2 separate regions of the Homo sapiens genome follow, and region 2 is linked to region 1. Evidence: promoter capture Hi-C in human tissues and cell types (Jung and others, 2019). All regions are on one chromosome and are shown on one strand. Each heading gives the region's core, a stretch centred on a gene start or on the middle of the fragment in contact. The rest is flanking DNA. Distances are from core to core; before and after follow the strand shown. Region 1 holds the start of TAS2R19 (taste 2 receptor member 19). Region 2 overlaps PRH1-TAS2R14 (PRH1-TAS2R14 readthrough).

Region 1 (3,316 bases), core at 415-2,914:
TAACAGCACTGAAATGATCATCAGCATGTTTCTTCATTCCTATTATAGAAATGATTTTTATTCTAGGCTATTCACATACTGGTATTAAATCTAGTATTCTTTAGTACTGTTTTGGTATACATATACAAAATTTACTCTACATATGTTTTTCACTCCAATTTTATTGTGTGCATCATTAACTAACAACAATTCTATTTGCTTTCTACTAAGCATAAAATAAGAATTCATAATGAAATAAAACCTACCCCAAAGATCCATTCTTATCATTGATTTAAAATTGAATGTCTTTACCATCCAAAAAATTAGAGGTTCACCAATGATAGTTAAGCACATATATGTGGTACAAATTACAATGGAAAAGAGAAATGATTTCTTCATAAAAGCTGTACGTTCTTAATTATAAAGAGAGATAATAAATTCTTCAAATGAAATACTATACAATGAACTATAATAAAATATAAATACTATATATGTGAAATATACTCAGCTTCATAATTTATGGTCAACGTTGTTATTCACACACATGCACACATATACACCCATAAATATATATATGACTTTTCTAGGTATCTGTTTTGAAATTACTCACATACAAACACTATGGAAAAACTGATAGAAATATAAAATGTTCCAGACACCATCAGTTTGTTTTCTGCTAGAAGACCCACGATGCTCCCCTTGTGAATCTATGGAGTTGAGGGTTTCTCTTCTTTCACTCAGCGTGTCATCTGCCACAAAACTGAAAGAAAGGTCTGTTTTAGCTTCCTACTTCCCATAATCAGGATGAATGAGTGGAATGAAGGATACATGATTGCAACAGTTTGGCAAAGCAGGAGTACAAGTTTGCTCTGCTGTGTCCTAAGATTCCAAGTTGATGTGATTATACACAGAAAGTAAATGGCAAATAACATGAGGAAGGAGGTCACAGTTTGCAAAGCTTTTATATGGACCTTGGTGCTGGGATCTTGAGATCCTTTGCTATGGAGCCGCATCTTCTTGAGATGTTTACAAAGAGAACAGATTAACAGCAGAAAACATATTAGGCTCAGAGTAAAGGGTATGAGGTTTGCTAGAGTAGTTACAGTCAAGCTTGAAAGGTGTATTGCATTCCTCAATTTGATCTTCCAAGTCACATTTCCTTCATATTCTTTTGTCCACACTCTCTCATCCATGGTTATCACAGCAAGATTACAAATCAGAAATACCAAGGGCCCCAACAGTATCACCAGAACAACACTCTTAATTCTCTTCTTTAGGTGGAGAGAAATAAGGTTGGAGAAATTGGCAATCTTGAGCAAACAAAATATGCTGAGGCTAGCAGCAAGCCACATGCTGAAATGGTTCGTTACAGCCCAGGCATTAGAAGCAACAATTCTTACTTCTAAACCATATAAAGCAGAATTAAACACAGTTGCATACCAAAGGAATAACATGACCCAGAGTAAACCAATTCTGGAGACCACCAGAGCAGTGAGAATTTGCTCAGCTGAGGAGATCTTTCGTGTGTTAACCCAGTCAATGACATTTACTAGGGCTATGAAGCCATTGGCAACATTTCCAAGAACAAATGCAAACACTACCAGAATTGATGAAATGATGAGCAGAAAACACATCATGTTTGAACAGATAAAAAAATGCAGGCTTAGTAACACTTGTTCTGAGTCCTTTAACATCCAGATGTTAACTTCGATGAACACTTGATTACTAAATGTGCAATAACATTTTCTGCCTTTAAATTCAGTGACTAGTGTCAACAGGCAAGCACCAGCATATGCTAATAGATGAATTCAAAACTGTCTTTATAGAAATAGAAAAGGTCATTATTCTCAAAACAGCTCAAATTCACTCCTCTTCATATACATTCTCTCCTTGCTATATGCTGTACTTTTTTATACTGAGGTTGAAGTGGAAAATGAATTCTCATGTGTTAGTATGCAAAGAAAGGCATATTATTTTTCATTGTTTTGCAATTTTTTTCCTTGTTTAACCTCTCCATAATTTGTATACAGCATCTTCAGTTGTTCCATAGGGAAATTGTAAAACCCAATACATATATCATATAGTAAATGTCTAAATTGTTAAAGGAGCTTGGTCATAACTAGGATCATACCAATATGGACTTATTTTTATGCCAGATTTAAATACCAGATTCTAAACCTTTTATCAAAATCATCCAAGATTATCTTGGAAATCCCTGGGAGGCTGATACACTTTAAAATCTGGTTTCTGATAACCAATAAATTGATATGACATCATTGTTAATAAGCTCCTAAACACATAGACACACATGCACTCACACCCTTAGGGCATGGAAGGAATTATTTTCTTATAATTCCCCAAATGGAAAATGAGTTTCCAGGAACTCATCCAGGTGGTATTAGTCTTATTTTCCAACTCAGGGCTGTCAGACAATGAATAATATTTATCAAACATGTTTCTCAAGCTTAGGCCTTTGGTATATTTACACTCAAGTCTGTTTTGTTTAAACATTAATTATTTAATTAAAATGTTCAGCAATTTTGTAAATATTTCTAAGTACCCTACTCTTTGTCACATAATCCTGCAGTACCCTCCCACCTCAGGCAGGGTGACTACCTTGACCTTGGACTCTGAATTCACTCACGTAATTTGCTTCAGTCAACAGGAAATTAGTAGAATTTACAGAGATTTAAGATGGCTTCCATATTGAAGTTTCCTGCTCTTTTCCACTAACCATGAGGACATCATCTGGCTAGCACACTGTTCCCAGAAGAAGAAAGAGAAACTAATGGAGTCAGAATGCCACTGCCTTATCTACCCTAAATCAGCCAAACTAGCGGCAAGATGCAGTACGTGGCCCATCTCCAATCACCAGAGCCATCCACCAAACCTAGGTTAGAAAAATGTAATCCAAAGACATAATGATACACAATTATCTAACTCAGTTTTCTCTTGCAGAAAAACATAAGTGATGTAGGTATTCTGCTAAATCAGGAGTGTGGGAAATATGCCCACCATTGTTGTGTCAGGAATTCAGGATCGAAGGAAAAAATAGAGAATGTCCAAGTTTTGTCATATGAAGTGGGTAATTAAACCTAAAAGAAAAACCTATTCAGAAATCTGTGGTTGGCAGGTAACATCATGTCAAGTTTCCTAAAGTTGCAACTAAAATCAGAAAGTTTCTACTTAAAATCTCTTAGAGTTACACATGAATGTATACAAATAGTGGATTTTTCCCTTCAGTATATAATGAGCAGAGTAATAATAATTTTCATGGACCATTTCTCCTAATTAATAATTTTTATCATATAGCTAGACTGCACACTTAGAAATGAAC
Region 2 (3,357 bases), core at 649-3,148, 96 kb after region 1:
TCACATAAAAAGACCCACAACTAGTATCATACTAAATTGGGAAAAACTAAAAGGCTTTCCTCTAAGATCTGGAACATGACAAGAATGCTCACATTCACTACTATTATTCAACATAATAGTAGAAGCTCTGGCTGGAGCAATCACTCAAGAAAAATAAAGAGCATCCACATAGGAAAGGAACAAGTCAAATTACGCTTGTTTGTAAACAATATGATCTTATATTTGTAAAACCTGAAGACTGTACCAAAAACTATTAGAATTGATAAACAAACTCAGTAAATTTGCAGAATACACAATTAACATAAAAAATTAGTAGTATTTCTACATGCCAATAGTGAACAATTTGAAAACAAAATCAAAAAAGTAATCCCACTTACAAAGGTCACACATAAAATTAAATACCTGAAAATTAACTCAGCCAAAGAGATGAAATAGCTCTATAATGAAAACTATAAAACTCTAATGAAAGAAATGGAAAAGGACACCCAAAAAAAGAAAAGATAGTCCATGTTCATGGATTAGAAGTATCAACATTGTTAAAATGGCCATACTACCCAAAGAATCTACAGATTCAATGCAATTCCTATCAAAATACCAAAAACATTCTTCACAGAAATAGAGAAAACAATCCTAAAATTTATATAGAGCCACAACTGACCCAGAATAGCCAAAACTATCCTAAGAAAAAAGAACAAAACTGAAGGAATCATGTTACTTGACTTCATATGATACTTACTACTGAGGCTACAGAAACCAAAACAGCATGTACTGGCATTAAAACTGACACATAGAACGATGGAACAGAACAGACAACTCGGAAACAAACCCACACACCTACAGTGAACTCATTTTTGAAAAAGATGCCAAGAACGTACACTGGAAAAAGACAGTCTCTTCAATAAATGGTGCTGGGACAACTGAATATCCATATGCAGAAGAATGAAACTAGGCCCATATATCTATACAAATATCAAATCAAAATGGATTAAAGATGTATGATTAAGATCTCAAACCATGAAGCTCCCATAAGAAAACATCAGAGAAACTCCCCAGGACATTGGTTTGAGCAAAAATTTCTTAAGTAGTAATACCCTACAAGTACAGGCAACCAAGTAAAAAATGCACAATTGGGATCACATCAAGTTAAAAAATACTTCTGCACAGCAAAGGTATGATCAACAAAGTGAAGAGACAATCCACAGAATAGGAGAAAATATTTGCAAACTACTCATCTGGCAAGGGATTAATAACCAGAATATAAAAGGAGCTTAAACAACTGTATAGGAAAAAAAATCTAACAATCTGATCAAAAAAATGGGTGAAATATTTGGATAGTCATTTCTCAAAACAAGATATACGAATGTCAAACAGACATGTGAAAAGGTGCTCAACATCATTGATCATCAGAGAAATGCAAATCAAAACTAAAATAAGATATCATCTCATCCCAGTTAAAACAGCTTATATACAAAAGACAGGTAGTAACAAATGCTGGTGAGGATGTGGAGAAACGGGAACCACTGTACACCGCAGGTGGGAATATAAATTAGTAAAACCACTATGGAAAACAGTTTAAAGGTTTCTCAAAAGACTAAAATTAGAGTTACCATATGATCCAGCAATCTCGCTGGTGGGTATATACCCAAAAGAAAGGAAGTAAGTGTATCAAACAGGTATCCACACTCCCATGTTTGTTGTAGCACTGTTCACAATAGCCAAGATTTGGAAGCAATCAAAGTGTCCAGCAACAGATGAATAGATAAAGAGAAGGTGGTATGGCCGGGGGCGGTGGCTGACACCGGTAATCCCAGCACTTTGGGAGGCCGAGGTGGGTGGATCATGAGGTCAAGAGATTGAGACCATCCTGGCCAACATGGTGAAACCCCATCGCTACTAAAAATACAAAAAAATTAGCTGGGCGTGGTGGCTGGCGCCTGTAGTCCCAGCGACTCAGGAGGCTGAGGCAGGAGAACCACTTGAACCTGGGAGGCTGAAGTTGCAGTGAGCCGAGATTGCGCCACTGCACTCCAGCCTGGAGACAGAGCGAGACTCCATCTCAAAAAAAAAAAAAAAAAAAAAAAAAAGAGGGAGAGAGAATGTGGTACATATACACAGTGGAGTACTATTCAGCCATTTAAAAAATGAGATCCTGTCATTTGCAGCAATACGGATGGAATTGGAGATTATTATGTTAAGTTGAATAAGTAAAAAATAACTGCAATGTTTGTGCAGAAAGGCAAGCATTGCACTTTCTCACTCATCTGTGGTATCTAAAAATCAAAACAATTGAACTCGTGGACATAGAGAGTACATAGATGGTTAACAAAGGCTAGGAAAGGTAGTGGGGGCTAAAGGGAAGGTGTGGCTGGTTAATGGCTACCAAAAAAAAAAAATAGAAAGAGTGAATGAGACCTACTATTTGATACCACAGCAGAGTGACTATAGTCAATGATAATTTAGCTGTACATTTTAACGTAACTAAAAGAGTATAACTGGATTGTTTGTAACAAAAAAGAGTAAATGTTTGAGGGGATGGCTACCCCATTCTTATGTGATTATTACTCTTTGCATGCCTGTATCAACACATCCCGTGTACTCAATACAGACCTACTATATATCCACAAAACTTAAAAATACATTAAAAAAAAAGAAATTCCTAAACTTCCCATACCTGTTTACTGATAAGGTAAACTAATATGCCCACATAATGTTAAAATACCAAAAAATGTAAAATTATGTTTTCAAACAAACTGAATACAAATTATGAAAAATTCCACATATTGACAGTAATTATTTTCTGTAGCCTATTGTCTTAAATTTAATTTCCAAGATTCCTAGTTCAAGACCTTAGACTAATATTAGATTCAGTGACTTCATGAAAATCTTTGGATAATTACTAGTTAAGATGGAATACTGAAATGTGGTCACCAATCACGGGTTATATAAATAAATAACTAAATGTAACTTTTATATTTTATGGACTGGCTATTTGTTTGGATTACATTAACAAACATGGGAGTTTTGTATGCCAATTCAAGCAAGTGTAAAAAGGATGTATATGACTATAGAAAGTTGTAATATATGTGCTTGAGAATTTTGCACATCTGCCAAAATACTTATTTTTAATAGTCCTCAATTACATAACTTCCAGTTTCCTCTTTGAAAGAGAATTACTTTGATTAATGTAATGAATAAAAGTAGGAGTTAGAACCATGGTAGAAACAAGAATGGACAAGGAATATGACTGTTATGAAAGGTAATGGAATGTAGTTTGGGTTTTCAAGAAAAGAGTATCTTTGCCTAAAGTAATGTGTTTTGTTGCTATTTCTGTCCTCACTGTGCTTGATGATAACTGAA

The links. The method cuts DNA at HindIII sites, captures the fragments that hold promoters and counts their contacts. A contact is called where the count stands out against the background at its distance.
Region 2: a contact is called between a fragment that was not itself captured here and the fragment with the promoter of TAS2R19 in region 1, in 9 of the 25 tissues and cell types used here (aorta, bladder, heart left ventricle and 6 more).

Annotation. Positions count from the first base shown.
Region 1 is chr12:11,020,956-11,024,271 of GRCh38, forward strand. TAS2R19 (taste 2 receptor member 19) reads right to left here and starts at 1,665. Exons shown (of 1, transcript NM_176888.2): 1 at 664-1,665. The coding sequence starts at 1,616. The coding sequence ends at 717. The region is part of intron 3 of PRH1-TAS2R14 (PRH1-TAS2R14 readthrough); the gene reads right to left. All of the region lies in intron 3 of PRH1-PRR4 (PRH1-PRR4 readthrough), which reads right to left. It also overlaps a transcript of PRH1 not described here. The HindIII fragment of the contact is 6,813 bases long and covers 1-3,316 here.
Region 2 is chr12:11,116,936-11,120,292 of GRCh38, forward strand. The region is part of intron 1 of PRH1-TAS2R14 (PRH1-TAS2R14 readthrough); the gene reads right to left. The region is part of intron 1 of PRH1-PRR4 (PRH1-PRR4 readthrough); the gene reads right to left. It also overlaps a transcript of PRH1 not described here. Among named protein-coding and RNA genes, the nearest start is that of TAS2R30, 16 kb to the right of the region's middle. The HindIII fragment of the contact is 6,748 bases long and covers 1-3,357 here.